Linked DNA regions of Homo sapiens: region 1 is linked to region 2. Evidence: promoter capture Hi-C in 16 types of primary human blood cells and fetal thymus (Javierre and others, 2016). All regions are on one chromosome and are shown on one strand. The core of a region is centred on a gene start or on the middle of the fragment in contact, and the rest is flanking DNA. Distances in the headings are between cores, read along the strand shown. Region 1 overlaps WNT4 (Wnt family member 4). Region 2 holds the start of C1QB (complement C1q B chain).

Evidence for each region. Contacts are between HindIII fragments. The CHiCAGO score rates a contact against its expected background, and 5 or more counts as called.
Region 1: a contact is called between a fragment that was not itself captured here and the fragment with the promoter of C1QB in region 2, in 4 of 17 cell types (megakaryocytes, erythroblasts, activated CD4 T cells and 1 more). The highest score is 7.1, in megakaryocytes.

Annotation. Positions count from the first base shown.
Region 1 is chr1:22,133,751-22,138,987 of GRCh38, reverse strand. The region is part of intron 1 of WNT4 (Wnt family member 4); the gene reads left to right. Among named protein-coding and RNA genes, the nearest start is that of WNT4, 6.7 kb to the left of the region's middle. RefSeq lists enhancers at 1-431, 2,305-2,818, 5,073-5,237. The HindIII fragment of the contact is 2,915 bases long and covers 2,131-5,045 here.
Region 2 is chr1:22,649,591-22,655,477 of GRCh38, reverse strand. It overlaps C1QB (complement C1q B chain), which reads right to left and starts at 2,242. Exons shown (of 3, transcript NM_001378156.1): 1 at 2,175-2,242. The HindIII fragment of the contact is 5,474 bases long and covers 1,787-5,887 here.

The sequences.
Region 1 (5,237 bases), core at 2,339-4,838, 520 kb after region 2:
CTTTCCGTGCCCTGGGGGCAGTGAAGGACGCATCATGCTTTCCATTGGCTTTGAGTCCCCACTGGTGTGCGACTTCCGGCCAAGCTCCCCTGAGCCTGCTTGCCCGGGGGCCGGGGGACAGTTTATATCTCCCTTGGCCTTGGGTGGAGTGAAGCCCAACACTCTGGGCACAACTCCCTGGGGCAGGGATGGGGCACGGCCAGCCCAGATGTGCAGTGCCAACCACACAGGTAAAGATGTGGCCCACCTCCTCCAGGAAGTGTGCCCTTGATTCCCAGCTTTAAAAGATCCCTCTCTCCCCTCTAAATAGTCAAAAATCCGTCTCCTTAGAGCTCCTCCGTGGCTCTGGGCAGTGAATTACAATCACAAACACCCCCACAGTACTTCACAGTTTACAGCAGGATTTCTCAGCCTCCGTATCACTGGTATTTGGGACTGGATGAGTCTTCTGTCTGGGTCTCTTCTGTGCATTGCGGGATACTTAGCAGCATACCTGACCTTTACCGGCTAGATAGCCAGTAACATCCCCCCAAGCGAAAGGACAAAATGTCTGCAGACTTTGCCAAATGTCCCCTGGGGGGCGGGCAAAATCATTCCCCCAGGAATCAATGGTTGGCAAAGATCTTTCACAACCATTACCCATTTGAACCACACACCATCCCCTCCATGCCTCACCACAACCACTTTCAGAGGACAGGAGTGTAGATTACTTTCAGCCCCACTTCAGAGGCCCAGACGTGCAATGACTTCCCCAAGGTCATCCTGCAAATCAGAAGCAGGACTGGAACTGCTCTCCCATGTCCAGATTTTACAGCTTTCATCCCCTGCCTATAGAACCGTTTCATATTATATATAACTCTAGTCTAATCATGTGGTTTCTTTACTGCTTCTACAAGGTTATAAACATCTGGAGGCCGTGGCTGTGGCATAAACACCTCTGAATATCTCACAGTGCCTGGCACGTGCCTGTCAGGTACTAGGTGCTCAGCCGATCTTTGATGGATGAATGAAAGGTGGGCTTGTTTAGAGGGTTCTCAGCTGTTGTCCAATGGTAGCCCATCTTCAAAGGCCTGCAGTAGGAGGAAGGCTCTGCTCCACTGCCCTGAGGCTCAGGTGATACTAAAAGGCACAGAGGTGGGTGGCAGGAAGTGTGTCTGTTGCCCCCCCGATCTGCTGCTCTGCCCCTCACTGCTGGGCCGGAACAGACCCTGAGAGCCAGGCTGAGTGTTTCTCCCCCAGCACTGCAGCACCCCAGGACCAGGCTCTGCCCGAGGGGGTTGCTCAGGCAGCAGTCACGACCCAGCTGTCTGCTATGGTTTGACTTTCTTCCCTCAGCCCTGGATTAGCAATTGAGCAACACAGCAAGCATCTGACAAGACAGTGCTCCCCAAACCTGTTGAAACTCGCCCAACTCAGGCTCTGTGGGTACACTGGGAAAGCTGAGCATTTGCACCAAGCCTCCTCCTCTTGTTCCTGCCTCTGGGAAGAGGGGCTTGGGCTTAGCCAGTGGGGCGCAGATTGGCCAGGGAGCCATGGGTGGGGTGACAGCTGCCTGCCGTGGGCCCTCCAGTCACCCCTTCACTGCATGGAGCAGGCGCAGCTGCAGGCAGAGCTGCGACCCCAGGGTTGCTCTCCAGATTTCCACAGGAGTTGCCAGGTTTTATCTCTGAGTCCTGAACTGCATCTTCTGTGATTCAGCCAAACTCGGGACGGCTCGCTCCCTGCCGTGACCCCACCAGCTCCCCCTCCCCCATGTCCTGGCAAACTGAAACCAAACTGTGTTCTGAAAGTTCCCTGCCAAGTCAGACCCCGCAGAGGAGGGGACCTGGTCTGAGGAGAGAGCGGGAGGGAGGTGGGAGGAGGAAGGGATGCGTCCTCCAGGGGAGAGGAGCCTCGGACAGCTCACATGTATCTTTGGAGAGGCCCATTAGAACAGCAGGAATGCTGATGGGCCTCAGGGCCCTTCCCCGAGATGACTGTGAATGGTCCCTTCAGACCCTATTTCTCAATCTGTTCACACACAAGCCCTGAAATCCCAGGATTGGGCCCTAGAGACCCTTCCCCAAGGGCTGGAGACAGCAGAATAGCCCCTCCTGAGTCGGGTGCCCAGCTGTTCCGGCAACCCAAGCTTCGAGGCATGAGTGTGAGGGGGTTCTTGGGGATTCTCAGTCAACCCCCTGGGGAACCTTCCTGCCAGGGAGGGCCTGGGATGCCCCCAGGCAAACATGTCGAGCACTTCCTCACATCAGGCCCTGTGCTGGGCACTTAGGACCATACAGCATGGCGGTGGTAGAACCAGGACTCCATCCCAGGTCTCCCAGAGCTGTTCCCGCAGCCGCTGACAGCAGCCCTGCAGCCCTGCAGCCCTGTACCCCCAGCCAGTTATTCTCTGCTGGGGGGATGAGCCCCACCCTGGTGGGGGTGGGAGTAGGGGTTCAGCCACAGGCTCTCCTAGGACTGGGCCTTTGGAAGGTATCCCCCAAGGCCGATGAACTCACTAGAAACCGGGAGCCTCACTCCAGGAGGCCAGCACTGGCTCTGGACAGTTCTGCTGGGGTTTCACCTGTCCCTCCTCTTTCCCCAACCCCAGGTTCCCTCAGCCCAGCAGGGAGGACAGTTCAATGGGTCAGTGGCCACAGGACATGAAAGGTTGTGGGGACACAGGTCGGATGGGTCTAGCAAAGGAAGAGCTCTCTGCTGGCAAATTGGGGGACAAGGTGAGGTCAGACCAGCCTTAAATTTGATACCCACTCCCCCCAACAACACACCTGCCTCAGGGAGAGAAGGCAAGTTCTCACCTGGCAGAGCTCTGGGGCCATCCAGGCTCAGGTCCAAGGGGCTACTTTGTGGCCCTGAGGCAGCCACCAGCTCGCTGGGAATACATACAGTGAGATGGGAAATGGGGTTGGGGGCTCCCAAACAGGAAGTGGGGGACACAGAGCCCTCAGGAGTGAAATGTAGGGGGCTAGGGTACCAGGATACTGGAAGTAATGAGAATTGGGAAACCAAGAGTCAGAAAATGAGGGCACTGAGGCTTCCAAGGATAGGAGATGGGAGCGAGGGGTCCCAGGAGACAGGAAAGAGGGAAAGGGGCCCAAAGGTGCAGAGTGGTGTGCACTGGCGGTGGAGGCCTGGGTTCCAGGGGAGGCCGTTCTCTCTCTCCGCCTGAGGAAATGCACCTGAGGCCAAGAGGACTTGGCCTGGGCCTTGAGAGACCTAGGACCATGCTAAGGCTGAGGGGTGAAGGCAGCACCCACTGCCCTGCAAACCACCATGAGTGTCTCCAAAGCCTGCCCCTCCAGGGGTTTTGGACCAGTGGCAGCAACCCTTCCATGGCCCCAACAGCTACAGAGACCACAGGCTTCCATACTGTCCAGGCAGTCCCGTAACCACCCAGACATCTGTCCCCAGCACCCCTTACTCCTGAACACAGCCCAGACACCTCACTGTAGTTCAGAAAAGACATGGGGCTCTAGAAAGACCCATCAAGGGAAGAATCAGGCCTCCTCCCTCAGGTCACTGTCTGTTGACTGCCAAACTTCATGCCTCAGTACCCTGGGTCATCTTTGGCTTAGGAGCCAGAGTGACCCGTTTTCAAATCCTGACCTTCCACTGCAGGCTGCATGGGCTCAAACACATGCTTCTCTGAGCTTCAGTTTCCTCATCTGCGAAACAGAGGGGAAGACACCTGCCTAGCCAGCCCTGTGCTGTTGCACTAAGGACATACTGAAGCACGTGACTATTGATTGCAGAGTATAAGTGAAGGTCCCATGCATCCACTCTGTGATGCCCACAAATGGTTTCCAAGTCCCCTTGACACTCCTGAGCTTGTCCTGCACACCACTGTCCCTGCCCTCACCCCAGTGTCCCAGCTCTTGATGTCCTAGCAGCACCATCCCCTCCACCCATCTCTCACACTCCCCAGCCTCAGAGGGTCTGACTGACAGTCGCCAGGAAACACATCCTCAAACTCTGCAGACTTCATCTGGAGACTCTGTCAAAAGCCTGCCATTGGGATGGCTGCTGAGGTCATCCACTGTACCCCGGGGGAGCGTGTCCCACCTCTCAGGCATGATCAGCTGAAAAAAAGACTGGGAACCCAGGACTAAGAGGGCCAAGAGACCCAAGCAAAAAAACACACACACAAATGAGCAGAAGTCAGCATGGGTCTGGTCTGGGGTGCAGCAGAGGGGTGGCCAGAGGAACTGGGAGAGGCTGTGGGAGGGGTGGTGACGGCACCGATGACAGTGAGCATCTTGAAGGTGCTGCTAGGACAATGCTGCAGCAGGGACGAGCATCTCCTGCACACAGATTTCATTCATTTAGGCCTCCTGCGTGCAGGAATTCCAGTCTCCCCACTTTACAGATGAACACGCTGAGGCTCAGAGGTGTTCACTAACTTGCTTCAAGCAACACAAGGATGACATTTGGACCCAGGAGTCCCTGGTCCATGTCCTTTCTGCACTGCCTGCCATGCCAAAAGACAAGGGTCTCCAAGGCTAGGGCACCATCAGGGGGAGCACAGCAGGATACCAAGACTGTGGTTATAGAAACATTCAAAGATGTAAAAGTGAGTGGGGGGTATGGTTAGGATCTTGGGAAACCAGGTACCATCCCCCTAAGAACACAGTCCTAGATGGGGACTGTGGTCACTTTCGCCCCCACTGGCCCGCATCCCCCAAGGCAGCTCTGTTCAGCAGCCACTCCGTTTTCTTCCGGCTCCCCCTCCCACCCACTTGGCCTCCTTCCTCCCTGGTATCGCAGGCACGACCGCTCCTGAGGAGGCTCTAAATGTGGCCCAGGCAGGCAGGGAGGCCAAAGGGAGGGGGCAGAGAGGCCTGCGCTGGCGTCCCAGCCCCCACCTGGACACCCGCAGGGCCGGGACCCACGACACTGATCTGCTTGGCCTCCCAAACGCTCCAGCTATTTCCCGTCCCCTCTCCTCTTGACTCACAGCGTAAGAGCTGGGAGGAGTCGCAGAGGTGCAGATTTTCCTCTAGGAATTTGTATATTTTTTTTAAAAAGCAAGCAAACCTGGAAAAGCTTGGGACAAGCCCAGCTAATTTTAGTTTCTAATGAAAACAGCAGGTGGCTGAGAGGATCTGATCTCCCTGGCAGGGCAAGGGCCCTCCAGCCTCGCAGGCTGTAGGCACGGGCCGGGCTCGGGGAGGGCCTCCTGGGAGGAGCCTGCAGGACCTGCAGCCCCCGTTGGAGAAGATCAGGGCATGAGCTGGCTG
Region 2 (5,887 bases), core at 993-3,492:
GACCAGACAAGGCCTACTGATATTTGGCTCCTATGCTCTGCAAACCAGCCTCAGCCCCTCAGCCTAGTCCTGATCAATTTCTTGCTGAAAGCCCTGAGTTATGCCAGACACTGTGCACCAAGGAAAGGAAGCTGTAAAGATGAGTGTGGCCAGGGAATGCTGGTGACAGCTTTAGGTTCTGTCAGGCTCTATGCTCTGAAGACAGGGTGGCTCAGGGGCATGGTCCTGCTTATCCATGAATAAGCATCAGCTCTCACTCTTGCTCTTGCTAAAGGTTTTACAAAATGGCAATTTAACAACTTTAATAAGTTGGGTACGTATAGGCCAGGCTCTGAGCCAGATGGCTTGCATGCCATTATCCCCTGTAATTTGATATTCAGCCCCTGAGAATGCACTCTTGCTTTCTTATTTTACAGATGAGGCAACGGGATCAGAGAGGGCAAGCACCTTGATAAAAGTCACACAGCTCCTGTGTGGCTGGGAGTCAAACCCACATCCACTGGATCTTAAAACTCAATGTTATGTTAAGAGGCCACTGTACCTGGTGGTAAAAACATAAACTTTGAAGCCAGACAGCCTGATAAAAGGACTAATGCATGGGACACACCAAGGGTAGTGGTAGGCACATGGTCAGTGTTCGGTGAAAGTGGCTTTTTACCACCACGATGATTGCTGCTCTTGTTAGGCAGCACACATTCACCTGGTGGCGGGAGCCTGTAGTGTCACAAGGAAAGCAACACTCAGCGTTCACATAAGGTCTCTACTGCTTCTTAGCTAAGGGACTTGGGAAATCACTCCTTCTCTCTGGCCACAGTTTACCCTCCTATAAAGTGGGGATAATGCTACTCTCTCCCTCATAGGGTATGTGCGAGGACATGAGTTACAGCTTCCAACAGAGCCTGGCATGTTGGAAATTCTTAATGAATATTAGCTATTTTATTATTATCACTGTCATCCAAGAATTCCTGAGTGGTTGAACAGAAGGGAAGATGGTTGGAGAAGTAAAAAAAGACAATCCCTTTGAAAGACTGTGTTTAGAGGGAGGGGCTCTGTCAGTTGGAGGCAGCAAGGGGTGGAGAGCTGTGACCAGTTGGTGGGGAGAGAGGGTGGGGAGCAGGGTACTGACAGGACTTGGGCTTCCTGGGGAAGCCAGGGGCAGGGGGAGTGGGAAAGTGCTGGTTCTAGCCCATTTCAAAAGCCACCGAGTTTCAGCCTTGGGTTAGGGCTTACAACTCATCTGGTTTAACTGCCTCCTGCCTGTGCCAGCCCATCATCATTGCCAGCGCGGTTTCTCCTGTCCTCCCCCCAGGCTCTGACCTTTCCATCTCCTTCGGTCCAGCAGTCCCTTTCCGCAACATGGAGTCAGGCCCACTTGACTTTAAAGCCCCATCTGCTACCGGCTGCATAACCTCAGGCAAGTGCCTTAACCTCTCTGAGCCTCTTGGCAATGCTGATTTCAACCTGACAGGGCTGCCAGAAGGATGACAGGAGAAGGCGCTTAGAAGAAATAAGGTCCCCCCTGCCCCGTGCAGTGCCACATCCCACTCCCCAGCTGCACAAACATTGCGCTCACTCAGTACTAGCTGAGAACTCATCGTAACTCTACCTGCACATCCCCTTATTTCTTTGGAAGAGTCAAGCTGAGCTTTCTCAGCGAGTATGAGGAAATAAGCAAGGTGTTGGGGAAATGCTGGGCCGGGCAGGAGCGACTGGCTTATAATCCCACTCCTGCCTCTGGTTTACTGATAAATTTTGAGCCAGGGCATGCACTAAGCTTTTGCAAGCTTGATCTCCTGTAAGGCACAGCAGTGCTGAAAGATTCTGTTCTCTGTAGGGGGGCCGGGCTGAGAGAGGTTAGGTGACTTGCCCAAGATAACCAATACATAAGGTGCAGAGCCAGACTCAGCTCAAGTCTCTGCGATGCCAAAGCTCCTATGTGCCAGGCTCCCGCTTTAGGTGGCCTGCCCATCCGCTAGGCCCTGGGTAGCAGCAGACTCCCCAACTCACCCCAGAGATCTGGGTCCCATAGGTCTGGGATTGGGCCCAGCTACCTGCACTGTTAAACAGCCTAACTGGCTCCGAGGCAGGTGACGCAAAGCTCACACTTACGGAATCACCACTTTCTGCCATATTGGCCCTGCCAGCCTCCCCCAGGCGCCAAGCCCCGTCCTCACCTGGGAAGCTGGTGTCCTGTGAGGCCACTGGGCTGAGCAGCAGTGGGACCAGGAGCCGAGAGCCTACTGCCCTCGGTCCGAAGCGGAAGTTCCCTTCCCCAGAGGCGGGAAGGGCTTTCCCCTGACGGTCCCCTCCCATGGACCAGCAGGCTGGCCCCTTTCCCGTCCCCTCACTGTCCCCCCACCCTGCTGCCCTCAGGCAGTTTCAGGTCCTATTTCTGCAACCCACTGGATTTACTGTAAATGAGACGGGTGGGTGGCAAGTTTGGTTCTGCCAACTCAGCAGCTGTGGGGAGAACACGCTGTCCTGGGGGAACATCCACAGCTCACCCTCCCAGGCTCTCTGACCTCGTGATCTTCTTCTACACTGGGCAGGGGTGTTCCTCAGTGAGCATCATGTGGCGGGCCCGCTGCCTGAGTGCTGGCTTACAGTCAGAGCCTTTGATTCCAATCCCGCCTCTGCCACTTGCCAGTTGATGTGTTGTCAGTCAAGGGAGCCCCAATTTTCTCTGCTATAGGATGGGACCATAATTGTACCTGCTCTACAGATACAGATCTCACAGGCCACTGGGAGGATAATGGAGGAAATGATGGGGGAGGAAGTGTCTGGGGGTAAACTGTAAAGGGCTGTGCACGTGTTCATTGTTAATATCACTTCATGTCCCAGGCTTCCCCTTTCTGGGCTCATCTCTTCTGCTTCCTTCCCATTCTGTGCCCCTGCTCTTTCCCTGTTCTCAGAAAATAATCTCATAATGAATTTTAAATGTGTTCATTATTTATTGATACCCCTCCCTCTGCTTCCAGCAGGGCTGGACGCTGATGACAATAATAGGCCCAGGCAGGGGCCTGTTGCTTCTTCTCGATCCTGGAATCACGCCAAGTTAGGGCCGGAGAGGGGCTGAGGTTACTCGGCCCATCCTCCTCATTTTATATACGAGGAAACTGAGGCCCAGAGGGGAGACCCACCATTTAACAAATATTTAGTGTTTGCTTCCATGTGCACTGAAGAGAGAGCTCTTAGCAAATCAGCCATGGTCCCTGCCCCCATGGGGCCTCCCTTCTACGGGGGGAGACTGGTGTTAAACACGGAATGACATGAGGCTTCATTGCTTCTGTGATAAATGTCACAGAAAGACGTGACTGCTGGGGCCGATGCCTCATGGAGGTGGCAGATGCAGACCTGGAAGCCGGCATCCCTGGCACTAGGATATCAGTCTCTCCCTGTGGCTGCGTCTCAGACGACATGATGACTAGCAAGCACCAGGAGCTGGAGGCCCTCTTGACATCTGTGCTTGGAGATGGAAATTCACTGGGCTTGTGGATGCAGCTTGGTGGAAATTAAGTGTTAACTGCAATGGGTGAACAGGAGGGAAAGATAAGTTTGATAAAACCAAAAGGTCTCTGAGCTCAGTCAACTATAGTCCCGAAGGGACCCAGGCTAGGGTGAAGAGAAGAAACACTGGATTCCACAAAGGGAGAAACGAGTTAGTAGGTTGCAAGTTGAGGGCTTCTGAGCATTCCCAAAGCCGAGTGGCTCTGGGCCTCTAGTTCTTTTTTTTTTTTTTTTTCTTGAGATGGAGTCTCAGTCTGTTGCTCAGGCTGGAGTGCAGTGGTGCGACCTCAGCTCACTAGAACCTCTTCCTCCCAAGTTCAAGCGATTCTCCTGCCTCAGCCTCCCAGGTAGCTGGGACTACAGGTGCATGCCACCAAGCCCAGCTAATTTTTGTATTTTTTTTTAGTAGATACAGGGTTTCACCATGTTGGCCAGGCCGGTCTCAAACTCCTGACCTCAAGTTGATCTGCCTGCCTCGGCCTCCCAAAGTGCTGGGATTACAGGCGTGAGCCACCATGCCCAGCCTCTGGGCCTCTAATTCTTAGGTGGCTAAGGGCAATGGGAAAAGATGGATGTCAATTTGGGGTAGAAGCAGTGAGGCTAAGAACAGGAAGCAGCAGAGGTGGGTTAGGAGCACGGACTTTGGCAGTTTGAATCCCAGCTCTTCGTCTTGCTAACTATGTGGCCACGGGAATGTTTACTGGCCTCAGTTTCCTCGTGTAGAAATGGGAAGCATGAACGCCTATCTCCTGGGGCTGTTTTGGGGGCCAGCGAGGTCCCCCTGCCATGTCCAGGGCCAGGTGAGTGCCCAGCCCTTGGTGGGCACCCACTGCAAACATGGGAACGGTATTACTTATATGAAGAGAAGATGGAATTCTTGGAACCCAGGAGCAAAGAAGCCATGCCTGGATTAGGAGGAGGCCTGGACTTGGGGATCAGGAGCTGAGGGGTCCCTGGGCCTTGACCGCTAATGGGAGCCAGCTGGTCTCTGTACCTACAAAATTTTGGACTCACATCCCTGATTGAGAGTGGAAAATCCCTGATCCCTGCAAAGAGTGGAAAAAGAAACCTACACCCCCTCACCTTCCTGTGGTTGGAAAGGGGTTCCTTGCAGCTTGGGGTGTCTTGTCCTGGCTCCTGCCCCACGTCCACCCCTCCTTGCCTGCCCCACTGAAAAACTCTCCCCCGCCTCCCCTCAGCAAGGCAGACACGTTGGCATTTTCAAAGGCTTGCCCCCCTGATGAAGAGAGAACAACAAGGAAACAATTATGGAAAATAAAAATGGCACAAAATTGTCATTTCCAAAGTACAGGTTTCTGATATGACACTGTGACCTACATAAATGGTGTATTGATTTTTTAAACAAAAGAGAAATGAGAAGAAAGACATATCACCCACAGCTTCGCCCGGCCGACAGCTAAGGGGTTGGTGGAGGAGAGCAGTGGATGCTGTGGCCGTGGCCTTCACGCTGTCCCCGCCGGGGGCACTGGACTCAGTGAACCGTCCAGGTTCTTCCGCCCCTGCCTCCTGCTCTCCCACTGTGTATTTCTGTATGTGTATGTGTGTGCATGTGTATGTGTGTATGTGTATGTATGTGTGTATGCGTCTGTGTGTATATCTGTGTGTACATGTGCATGAGTGTCTATGTGTGTATGTGTGTCTATGTGTGTGTCTGTGAATGTATGTGGATGTGTGGATGTCTATGTGTGGGTGTCAATGTGTGTGCATGCATATGCGTGTGGGTATGTGCATGTATATGCGTATATGTGTGTTTCTGTGTGTATGCATATATCTAAGTGTTGTGTGGATACTATATGAGTGTATATGTGTGTGTATGTGTATATATGTGTATGTCTGTGTGTATGTGTATACATGTGTGCGTGTGTATATCTGTGTATATAGGTATATTTTTGTATGTGTATATGTGTGGATGTCTTTGCATGTGTCTGTGTATATATGTGTATAAATATGTGTATGTGTATGCATATGTGTGTGTCTGTGCATGTGCCTATATATGTATGTGTATATGTGTACATATGTGTGTATATGCATATATGTGTGTATGTATACATATGTGTGTATGTATGCATATGTGTGTATGTACATGTCTTTACATGCATGTGTATATGTGTGTATGTGCATATATGTGCGTGTGCATGTGTGTGTGCATGTGTGTGTCTTTCTCTCCCTCCTTCCCATCTTACACACTTTTCATGTCCCTGTTATGTGCCAGGTATGTATGGAAGGGGCCCTGCCCCCACGATTCTTACAGTCTAAAGGGGAGGCAGACCTGTAAGTGACTAAGTGCACAAAAGCTAGTTGGTGGGCTGTGTGCATCAGATTCCCCTGCAAACCGCCAACTCATTTACAGCCTGGGCTT